2 separate regions of the Homo sapiens genome follow, and region 1 is linked to region 2. The links are contacts of gene promoters, found by promoter capture Hi-C in blood cells and fetal thymus (Javierre and others, 2016). All regions are on one chromosome and are shown on one strand. Each heading gives the region's core, a stretch centred on a gene start or on the middle of the fragment in contact. The rest is flanking DNA. Distances are from core to core; before and after follow the strand shown.

Region 1 (5,963 bases), core at 69-2,568, 2.6 Mb after region 2:
AAAAAAAAAGCATTTTTAGTAAACACTCACTGGGTAAAGGAGATCATGGAATAATGTTTGTACTCATGTATTGGGAACTAAAAAATGCTATTTCTGTCTGACCGACTTGATGGTTTTAGAAACACTGTCTGGTCCCTGAAACACACATGCATGCCCCCTTCCTTCTCTCTTCTCCCCCAGACCCAGGGCAGAAAGCATGAACTACAACCTTCTTCAAACACATAACCAATTTAGAGAACAGCTTCTCAAGGAGGCTATGGCAGATTCATGAATAAGGTTAAAATGTCAAAGATCTCTGAACCATAATCTAGAAAAGTAAGCTTCAATATCCAAGTTAATTCTTACTTTGAATTTTTGTACTTTTCTCTTATTGACTGTTGTGCATGCTGTGGTGCTTTGAGGTAGGTCTGGTGAAGGTCCATGAGACAAGGCTTAAGACTTTCCAGGGTATATCCAGTCTTTCGTATTAATGATTCAGGCTACAGAGAAGGGAATAGAGAACCCCTGAGTTTTGCTTTTAGTAACACACCAAACACAGTAAATAGTTGGCATTAAGCTTATGTTAAATTCCAGTACTAATCTTTAACTTTTCCAACTACTAGTTTTCTCAGGCCATTATTCCATCCCTCGATCCATTTTCTACTACTTTCCCTGCCAGCAACAGGTCAGATGCTTTTAAAAAAGCTCACCTTTCAATCCAAGTTACAACTAAGCTTACTACCTAACAAACACTGTTCAACAGGTAACATGCCTTAAACAGTATATAATCATCCCTCAGTGTACATGAGGGATTGGTTCCAGGACCCTTCCCAAATATACCCAAATCTGTACATATTCAAGTCCTGCAGTCACCCTTCCATATATATGGGTTGTGAATCCCCTGAATACTGTAGTTTCAGTCCACATTTGATTGGAAAAAAATCCATGTGTAAGTGGACTCACACAGTTCAAACCTGTGTTTTTCAAAGGTCAACTATATATATTTGAAGTTTTTCCAAGTAAGAACATCTAGGCAACCCTCAGTTTTGTAGGACAATTATTATTTAATCTGGCACAGGCATTTCAGTCACAAGATAGGTGTGTGAAGACCGTAATACATACCCAGCTTTGTCCCGTGACTGTGTAGAGTGCTAAATGAAAGGCAGCTCCAGCAATAACTGATGGCAAATACTTGAGGTATGGGTCAGCATCTATCAAACTTAATTCTCCCAAAAACTGGAATAAAAAATACTTTATGATCACAAGAGCGTTTAGAATTCAAATGTCAAACCTCTGCCTTCTAACCTAATTTTTTCCTGCCTTTGATAACGGCTCTGTAGCAACTCTAGAAAAAATATCTCACAGCCTCATCTTTAAACATATCAATCATTTTAGTGTTTTGTTCCATCCTCATCCTGTATTTTCCCTCCTTTATTAACTTTTAAAAAACAACTCTTCTGACTACCCATCCCCAAGATGTCATCCTTAGACCTCTGCTTCTAGTGCTTTCCTGATATAGATTATCTTTTGCCAGCAGTAGGCTTTCTTCCATACTGCAGCATTAATCTCCCTCTGAATACTAAATCTCTTCACCACTGCTGTACAAAGGAACTAGGTTCCTTTACAAAGGAATTAGGGCTTACCCCTAATTATTACCAAAGAATCACCATTCAACAAAATGAAAGTTAACTCACCATTGCTAAACTTTCAACTTTGCAGTTTGCAGGCTGCTGATGCAGAAAGTATTGGGTAAGAAACTGATTTACTGTTGGAGCAGCTAAGTCAAAAGTAAGGACTTTCAAAACTAGATGCTCCATTCTCAGAACTTGTTTCTTGGTGTAGGTATCATCTGTAATGTACACAAACTCTGCTACTTCTGGGGGGTATATTTCTTCAAACTTTCTACAATGAAAAAAGTTTTAAGTAATCAGTCCTAAAAGAGAAGCAAGCTTCCTTATCCCAGTTCTGAAATCCCATTAGCAGAATATGGAATGAATCCAAAATCCACACCAACTGCATTTCCAGACACTTGATCATCATTTCTAGTAGAGACTGGATAGCTAATTGCTAATTAAAAGGCCCAAATCAATAAAGGACTTTTGAGATATTTTCCCCAGTTCAGTCAAAGGAAGTAAATGAAAGGCATGAGACTTCTCGAGATGGGAACAATGCCAGAGTTCACCAAGTAGCTGAAAATTTAGGAAATACAAGTCTTAGGAAAACATGTTTCATGTTTTCATTTTTAAATTTAGTTTTTCTTTCTTTTTTTTTTTTTTTTTTGAGACAAGAGTCTTGCTCTGTCGCCCAGGCCAGAGTGCAGTGGTGCAATCTTAGCTCGCTGCAACTTCCACCTCCTGGGTTCAAGCGATTCTCTTGCCTCAGCCTCCCTAGTAGCTGAGATTACAGGCATGCATCACCATGCCCAGCTAATTTTTGTATTTTTAGTAGAGACAGGGTTTCGCCATGATGGCCAGGCTGGTCTCAAACTCCTGACCTCAAGTGATCCGCCCACCTCGGCCTCCCAAAGTGCTGGGATTACAGGCGCGAGCCACCGCACCCAGCCTTTACTTCTTAATAAAAGAGACACTGCTTATATGCCAGAAAGTAATATTGGAAGGAAAATGTTTTAAAATTTGTAACCTAGTGTACTATATCATGTTCAAGGAATCCAGTTGGGGGAAAATTAGTGTTCTAGATTAGAACAGTTTCATCCTCCTCCACTGCCCTAAGCCCCAGCACATTGCCATCCCTAAAGTAGTCACTGACTCTGCCTGGTGTATGTTAAAAGGTCACCATTAAAAAAATCAATTTCTTCCCTAGACAAAAGGTCGTGATCACTTTTAAACAAACCAAGGTAGACTTACGAGGCTAACAGCATAGCAGCAGTGCCCACAAGCTGAAGTTTTCCTCTCAGCACTGACATGGAAGACAGGAACCTATCAATGTAGTTCACAGCCAAATGCAGGGTCTCATTCTGTAGTTTATATTCTTCTCCTACTTCAACTAACCAGTCCACGAGGATAGCTCTCATACTGTTAGTGATGTCTGGCTGTTTCTTCATGTAACCCACTTTAGGTTTACATTTAACCTATTGAGAAAATTATTTATAGTGTTAAAATTATTCTAGTGTAAAAACTGCAATTAGATTATTTTACCATTAATTACGAGAGGCTACATGCTATAAACTTAACTGTAGCATTAGAATAATTCATTAGTTTAAAAATTTAAACATTATCCTCTCAATTTCATTTAGCCACATTTAACAAATACATTATACAAACTGGATTCAGAGAACCTTTACCTCCATTTCCCTAAGGTATGTGTGAATATCCTCATGGTAGTCTGGTACTTCATTAACACTCACTGGCTTTTCATCTTCTAATATAATTGACATGTCCATAGTATGTGGTGACTCTGGGACAATTCAAAAGATATGATTAAATTAATTGTTTGCCTATTTAGTTTAATAGCTAAAAATGACTGCCATGGAAGGAATCTCATATTAACAAAGCACTTATTTCTTCAAACTAAAAAGAGCTTCTCATGACAAAATATGTAGAATATTTTACCCTAGTCTCAGTATCTCTGTACATAGAACTTTGGAATGATTTTAGTTAATGAGGGAAAAAAAAAAAAACATATTGGTAGGCCCCTAACAGGAAAATGAGAATCAGGTATTATCTTAAAGTATCCATCTTCCACAACAGAAAGGAGCAAATGGCATGGTGGTTCTGTTAGGACAGAACACTTTTAAAATCCAAGTTTTGAGATAATATCTAAGATTTGTCCCAAGAGAAACTGCAGATCCCAGAGTCTGACATATATAAAGCACAAGTAGGCAATAGCTAGCATCAGTTAAATGGCCTCTATTAACAAGTGTTATTAAGAAATTAGGTTTGTTATGGGCAAATGGATTAACACTATAAATAATTTATTTTTTGTAGTATAAATTATTTTGAAGCAAAGAGTATCATCCATTATTCCTTTCACTTCAAAGATCACCTTGAGATTAAACATTTTCTGCAAAATTTTGATAAAAACACACAAATTATTATTTCCAAAGGACTTTTCCTGCTCACCCCTCCTTCCTCACAATCAATACAACTAAAACTAAAATGAGATTGGATTTAGTGAGCTGTCCAGTGACTCAATATCCCTAGGGCAAAGAAATAGTACAAACTGCAAAGAGCTGTTTACAGAAGCTACTTTAATACATGGGTAAGAGTAAACAGCCATGGTACAACTATTTACTTGTAGGAGGAAAAGTGTCACTTTCTGGTATCAGATGCTAATCCAGACTGGTTTTATAGAAACAAAATTATAAAACTGGAAGAGACGTTATGTAATCACAATATTTAAGACTGCATCTTCAAATAGCACTAAGTGATATATAAGTGAGTTAAATAAAACTGAAATCTATTCTCCCAACCAAGAACACATTTATGGGATCAGATTAAAATAAGCATTTAAGATCTAATTATAATTAGATTGATGTGACTGGCAGTGAACCTGAAAGAGCACTGGATAAGGATCTTTTTGTATGTCACCAAGTCAAGTGTTAGCTGTGAGATCTGAGATAAGTCACATCCTTTCTAAGCCTTGTTACATTAAACCTAACTCACTATAGTCAAAATGACTACATAAGACATCTTAAAATGCAAATCATTAATATCATCTAATAATTATAATTACCGTAATTCCACACAGATTTTCCTTAAAACTTACCAAAACTACCATCCATTGGATAATCAAGAGGGACCAATGGTTTTCTGGGTCCAGGTAAACTAATGGCTGAATTAAAAGCCAGGGCATCTTCACGCTCTATTTTTTGAGATTCAGCTGGCTTCTTCTGAGCTTCTTTTTCTGCTTCATCCACATGAATGGTGAACGCAGGCTGTTTACTGTTTGCTTTCCAAGGAGGAACGGTGACATGCTCATCATTTACAGGAAGATCCTTAAGGGGTGCAACCTAAAAAAAAATTAATAACTGGCTTTGAGCCTACTAGTCTTGCATTCTTTCTCTTATGGGTGTTGGCCTTTGCTTTTTCTCCCAAATACTCTATCAGGAATTAAACTTTCTGGGACAAAGAAGAGTTTCAGTATTCAAAAGAGAAGGGATGTTCCCATTTGTCACAGGCATTCCCACAAAGGCTATCAATAGATAACACTAGGTGGAATTATGCAAAACTTATCAGGGCCACAAGAAGGGTCGGGTGACAGGCCAATACGTGACAAGTTTAGGAAAGACAGCAAAAAAATTGTTGGTTCACCACTGTCGCCCGAGGGTGGAGCAACAGAGCAAATCCGGCTAAAATGGCGGAATTTGCCAAAAGCAAAGTATTTTGTACACGCTTTTCTAAAGTAGAGGTCATCTCTTAAGCGTGAGGAGGATAGGGGTCAGAGTCCTACAGCAGTGCCTGGGGTTTAAAAGTGGAGAGAAAGGCGCGGAGCTGAGCGAAGACTACACGTTTTAGAGCTTGGTTTGACCCCATTATGTACAGGCAGATGCCCCCTATAGAGAGCAGACCGGCAGCATACACACAGTGTTGGCGGGGTCCTGATGCTAATATGGGAGAACTCCTACTGTGGCAAACCACACACCAGCACCAACTGCACTCCAGACCCTGGCCCCCTTCCAAAAGCCCAGGACATGCCTTCTCGCCACTCTTCTCTGCCTGCTAAGCCAATGCCAAACCCTGCTCGACCCACCCTCCTGCAGATATCCCGCATCCCTTTACCCGTCTCGTCTTCGGCCTCTGCTGCTGCGCTAGACCCCGCGGGTTCCCGGACTTCAGTACCGCCAGCGCGGCCCGGGTCCGCGGTTGTTGGACGGGCGCTGCCTTTTCCGGGTTGATATTCTCCTGGTCCTCTTGGAGCGCCGTCTGCTGCAATGCTAGCAGCGCCGAGCCCGCCTCGCGGGTCGCAGGCCCCGGCGCAGAGTTGCCCAACATCACTGCTCCCGGGAGTGGACGGCGGGATCAGCC
Region 2 (5,960 bases), core at 3,461-5,960:
CTTTCTGTACTTTTGAGATTTTAATTAAATACATATCATTGTCATCAATGATAATGGGATTCTATAAGAACATTTTTTTTTTTTTTAGTAATCAGCATTAGTAATCATAATAATGGCACTAATGGCCATCATAACCTAGTGTGGGACTTTACAGTTGCTTTTATCTAGGGCCTTATAAAAAGATATTTGTATAAGTATTTCTTCTCACCCCAATTTTAATGATAAGAAAATTAGAATGTTTCAATGTGAAATAACATACAAGGGTAATGAAATTGCCTACGCTGACCCTAAGTCAGCAAAAATTAAAGAGGCCACTAGTTAAACCACTAGCAGTGATTTACTAGCAAATGTTGACCTTGTTATGGCAGAGCCTTAGAAGGTCTGGGATGGATGGCCAGAAAAGTTTCAGCCAAGTAAGAGCTAGCTAAGATATCATGGATATTGAATTTGAACTTCCAGTGTTTAACAAAATGTCATGCTGCAGAGCTTTAGGAATCCAGTAAATACTGAAGTCCAGAATTCCTTGTAAGAGGAGAGAGGATCCTCAGGAACTCTCTCTCTCCTTCCCACTTCATCTGTGCCTTACTCGTTCAGACCAGCTACTTTCAATGACAAGGCACATTACTATAGCAATCACTTAGAGACCCATGGGAAGAATGTTCTAGGCCAGTAATTCTCAACCTTGATCCTACTGACATTGGGGACTAGATAATTCTTTGTTGTGGGAGACTGTCTTGTCCATTGTAGGATGTTTAGCAGCATCCCTGCCCGCAACTGTGACAACCAAAAATGTTTCCAACCATTGCCAAATGTCCATGGGAGAGAAAACCACCCCCAGTTTAGAACTAGTCTTCCAGACATAGAGAATAGAGAATGCAAAGCCTTGAACAGCATGAGATGTTGTTGCGGAAGCAGGAACAGATCATTCAGGGGTCTATAGGCCTTGGCAAGAATTTTGGATTTTATTCTATGTGAATGAAAAGTCATTGAACAATTTAAGTTGGGGAGTAACATGTCAATATTTTTAAAAGACTAATTGGCTGCTGTGTGGGAAATAGATTTAAAACCATGAGGATAAATGACATCTCAGGATCAGGCACTAAGGCACATCAACATTTAAAGCAGATTGAAAAGTACAAGAGAAAAGGAGGCTGAGAAAGAGAAGCCCATGAGGCAGGATGAAAGCCATAAAGGAATGATGTCACAAGAATTGAGATGAAGATGTCAAGGAGGGAGTGGTCAATTGTGACTAGATTTTTCTGGTTGACTCATCCCTGAGTCACAGCCTAGAGATTTCTCTTCTTGCCTAGCTATAGTTTCCCCTACAGTTCTTCTGTACCTTATTCCAAATGAATCATTCTGCCCCAGAACTTACAAAGGCTTCCCATTGTAGTCCTGTACTGGCCTTGTTCAATCCTGTTTCTAAAACTTTGCTCTTTTAAGTTACATATCTTCCTCAATGCCTTCAAATACACTTGCTTATAATCCTTCCAAGCTGAAGTTCATATTTGATCTCCCACAGAAGCCCTCTCCAACTTTAGCCCACACAGATGACTCTATTCAAAAAAATCAACAAAACTTCCAATTTTTACTCCATCCAATAAACACTGCTTGTTAAGCATCTGTGCTAGGCACTGTGCTATGCCTTGGAAACATGAAAAAACAGAGAGCTTAGGTAGTAAGGAAATTCACTTGTCAGTCCTTATGGATGCATTTAGGAAAAAAAGGATTCTGTCTAGTATCTAACCCTGAGTCAGTCATTGATCTACTACTTCCCTATGCTATATTTCACTCTACCCCACCCAGCTCAGTCATGGTTAAGCTGTTGATTACCTCCTGGAACTACTGGGTTACAGCTCCGCAGGACACAATGTTGCTATTCCTACCAGACATTAGTGGCAGGGTGCATCTAGCCACAGGGTAGCACATTTCTCAAAGTCTGAGTTATAATCAATCCAGAATAACACTAAGAGGTGTGTATATGTGCTGGTGGTGTGAACTTTGGCTAAGCCTCAGCTGAATGATCTAGGGTATTCTTTGGCATGCCAAGCCTGCTCCCTTTCATGATCTCTTTGCCTGTGTGAGGTGCAGAGATTGGTCTTCACAAATTTGGGTCCAGCCAATCAGAAACTAGGGAATCAAACCCACACACGTCCCTCAAGGACAAATAGTAAGAATTAAAATATTTTAAATCCTTGTTGTGACTTTCCCAATTACAAATTTTCTGGGAGCAACAGCTGTCCTGCAATGTCAATTTTCCATTTTTTCATGTTTGCTTCAGACTCTGCCCTCTTGATGCTTAAATTGGGTCCTATTACAACTCTACCATTTAAGGATCGGTACATAGATATGCTAAAAACTGGTAGAAAGTATGAAATTATATAATTTTAAAAGTGTATAGTCAGGGTTTAGTCAAATTCTTGAGCAGGGTGAACTGAAGGGTATTCTTCTGTAATTGCTAAATAAGGAAGGGAGGTAGTATAAGCCATTATTATCCACAGTTCAAATTATTTCTCAAGGGTGGAGGTGGGGGTTACTCTGTCAGGTACATTTGCAGAGAAATAAATATAGTACAACATAATTGTTATAAAAATAAGTCCCAAAAGGGATGACAATTTTGTCTCAGAAAGTTATGAAAAGATCCATGGAGATAAGCATTCGAGAGAGAACCAAAGGATCTTGAGAGAACCAAGAACATAGAAAGCAAGGACTTTAGAAAGATTAATGTGGAGGAACTGGAGGAAGAATGGCGATGAGTTTAACAGTGTGATCATGAAAGGCCCTGCCGGTGGGTAATGAAAAATTCTTAGCAGAGAAGTATAATGATCGTATTTTCACGTTAGAAAAATTATTAATAGAATGGAGGTTGGACTGGTGTGGGAAATAACTAGAGGATATCTTGTGAATATTGCAATAGTACAAGGAAGATGAGTCATAAGAGATGGTGATTACTTGAAGGACTAAGACAGTGAGAGTGGAGGGGTGGACCTGAGAGATACTTAAGGAAATAAGAGTCAAAATTTGATATTAGAAAAGAGGAAATGAAGGAAAAGTAACAGGGGTACTCATAGATTTCTGACTTGGGCAGTTGCGTGTCATTTTCTGAAACAGGGAATGGAAATGGTGTAGGTTCCAGATGGGTGAAGAGGGACATGGCATCAGGAACAGATTATAGTAAAGATGTCCATGTCAATTTGGGACATATTTAAGATACTGTGTGAAATCCAAAGGATGTTGCTTAAAAATGTCCGACGTATAGATATACACCTGAGAGTTCTTGGTGCACAGGACACGTGGTAGGTAAATCCATGATGGGAAAGAGACTGCTCAAGGAGACATGGATTAACATTAAACAGAAACAGCAAAAGAAAATGGAGTGCTGGCGAACAGAGACCACGCAGCGGAAAAACAGTATTTAAAGTGCACCAGAAAAGTAGCTGCAGAATGAGGAGAAAATGACATTAGAGAAACGGAGGGAAGAGTTAATGGTGTGCTCTTATTGTTTTAAAAATGCAGAGTAGGATCTTTTTTTCCCCCACCCCTCCCAAAGTTTTTAATATTTTGAGGGCAGAAACCACGGCTTTATTTCATCCTATTTCTGACAGTGCCTAGTTCAGTAAAGGGAACATAGTAAATGCTCAATAAATTCTTAATGATTCAGCCTCAGACATTACAAACGGGTCCTATTTGTCTCCTGTATCAACGACCAATATTTCTTCCCCCTCTTTCTTCAAATAAACTTTTAGAAGTGCCTCTGGGTTTACTGAAATCCATTTTTACAATTAGTATGTTCAACTTACACCAGCTTTGGAATGAGTTCCAAAACCTTCTTTATTTACTTGAGAGATATTCGGTATCAGTGACGATGGGTTTTTCCTTTACTACTATTCCTAAGAAAGGTTTATTCAAAATCAAAGTTTAGCCCAATTCCCAGCAGTACCTTTTAACTTAAAACCTGTTCGAAAGCACGGCAAAGAGGCGGACAGACTTTTCTGACAATCATTAACCAGGTCAACAGACTTATTAAAGCTATCTAATTAAAGGCAAGAAACAACTGCTTGGGGAATACACATTCACGCCACAGGAAGCCATTTAACTGCAAATAGATCGTCTAACGACTCACGGAAATCTAAAGGAAACTGCGTGTCCGCATGGGGTTCTGATGCCAAACTACGGATTGTTCTCTCAGGTAACACCTAACCTAAGTGAAGTCCTTGGTGGATCCGCGTTCTTGAGCTTAGAAAATACCGAATGAACTACCAAGAGCACCAGAATAATCGCCTCCTCCTGAAGAACTAGCCTCTTTCTCACCACACCAGACAGCACGTCCTACAACCACCTTTCCCCCAACAACCAAACTCCAGCGCCAAGCTGCCGCTTTTGCAGAAATGTTCTATCTCTTGGTCTCGCGCGATCTCGCGCCTCCGAGGAAGCCAACTGTATCGCGCACGCCATCAAATCCCCGCGGGAATAGAATTCCGCAGGTCCAGAAAGCCGGGAAATCGCGAGCGGAGGCGGAGTTACCTCGGTGAGCGTGAAGGCGGAGCCCGCTCCGAGGGGCGGGCTCGAGGCGGGGAGAGGGGCGGGGCTCCAGGGACCTGTTGATCGCAGGTGTCACTGGCCTGACTGGTCCCTGGGTATTGGGGCGTATGCGCATGCTCCGCTCACAGGGTCGGGCTCTGGGCGGCGGAGACCAGCCGCCTGTGCTCCAGTTCCCGGTGAGCCTCGGTACTGTGGCAGCAGTCAGTGTGTCTGGCGGGTGTCGGCGTGAAGCGGGGCTGGGCCAGCGGGAGGTAGCTCTGTGGGAGTGGAAGGCCTGTATTTCTCTACCTGGACCGCACGCTCCTCGCGCAAGGAGGGTAGAGCTCAAGGTAAGTCTCCGAAACTAGCCCTCTGGTTGGAGATCCAGAGACCTGCGACCCCCGCGGGCCTGACCGGGACACTCTCATTCTAGCCCCAGAGCTCGTCTCTCCCCTCGCAGCCCGGCGACCTCCTATGGCCCCGGCCCTCTGGGCACACACACACTCTCTTTGCTGGGCGGTTCAGACGCCAGAGGTCACGCAGCCCTTTCGCCCCTTCTCGCCGCGTCTGGCGGAGATGCCTCTGGCCAGGCTGGAGGCGCTCGCGAGGCGGGAGGAGGTGCTGTACTTGTTGGGTCCTGGATGTTATTGCTGCCGTGTTTGAGGGCGGCGACAAGCTGGAGTCCTGCTGGGATTGTGAGTAATACCCTTACTTGGCTCCTGCCCCTGGCTGTCCAAGCCACATTGCCTCGCCTGAGCACACAGTTTTTTACTTAAAGGGGTCCAGGATGGTTATGCTCCCTCCTTGGAGAAGAGAGATGACTGGACTCGTGAGATTCTTGGGGTGGTGGTTTCTCAGTGGTAGTGGTGATGTATATAAAGTTAATGTTTAGCTTCTAAAGGGCGGCTTACGGGGCATTTACCAAACTATTTTTAAACAGTGTTGGAGAACAGGAAGTACTTGCACAGGTGTAATAGGGAGGGTTTCTAAAACCTGCAATCTGAGGATGTTTTGAGGTTTGTAACCCTGCTACAAGGTTTTCTTTATCAATGCAAAGTATGCAGGGAATTACCAGTTGGACAGCAAAGTTTTCCGAAAGTTTCCTTATCTGGAAATAGATATATATATATATATATATGTGTGTGTGTGTATGTATGTATGTATAAATATATATATTTGCAAAGAATATCTAAGGCTATTTTTGAGGTAGGTTTAATAGTAAACTTAACCTGTAGTCCCAGCTACTCGGGAGGCTGAGGCAGGAGAATTGCTTGAACCGGAGGTTGCAGTGAGCCGAGATCGCGCCACTGCATTCCAGCAGGGGCGACAGAGCCAGACTCCGTCTCCAAAAAACAAACAAACAAACAAAAAAACGCAGTACACTTAGGAAGGTTTTTGTGATTAAGATCTGATTCACTTTTAGTTATTAAAAGAAAAGG

The links. Contacts are between HindIII fragments. The CHiCAGO score rates a contact against its expected background, and 5 or more counts as called.
Region 1: a contact is called between a fragment that was not itself captured here and the fragment with the promoter of USP53 in region 2, in 1 of 17 cell types (non-activated CD4 T cells). The highest score is 6.1, in non-activated CD4 T cells.

Annotation. Positions count from the first base shown.
Region 1 is chr4:121,817,699-121,823,661 of GRCh38, forward strand. CCNA2 (cyclin A2) reads right to left here. Exons shown (of 8, transcript NM_001237.5): 1 at 5,718-5,963; 2 at 4,705-4,948; 3 at 3,281-3,393; 4 at 2,844-3,067; 5 at 1,674-1,881; 6 at 1,102-1,215; 7 at 346-479. The coding sequence starts at 5,930. Among named protein-coding and RNA genes, the nearest start is that of CCNA2, 3.2 kb to the right of the region's middle. RefSeq lists an enhancer at 5,724-5,773. The HindIII fragment of the contact is 1,215 bases long and covers 712-1,926 here.
Region 2 is chr4:119,208,003-119,213,962 of GRCh38, forward strand. It overlaps USP53 (ubiquitin specific peptidase 53), which reads left to right and starts at 4,711. Exons shown (of 19, transcript NM_001371395.1): 1 at 4,711-4,871. It overlaps LOC101929762 (a long non-coding RNA gene), which reads right to left and starts at 4,642. Exons shown (of 3, transcript NR_125931.1): 1 at 4,525-4,642. RefSeq lists enhancers at 1,274-2,473, 3,629-4,203, 4,326-4,445, 4,777-5,350, 5,056-5,105 and a silencer at 4,576-4,705. The HindIII fragment of the contact is 14,070 bases long and covers 1-5,960 here.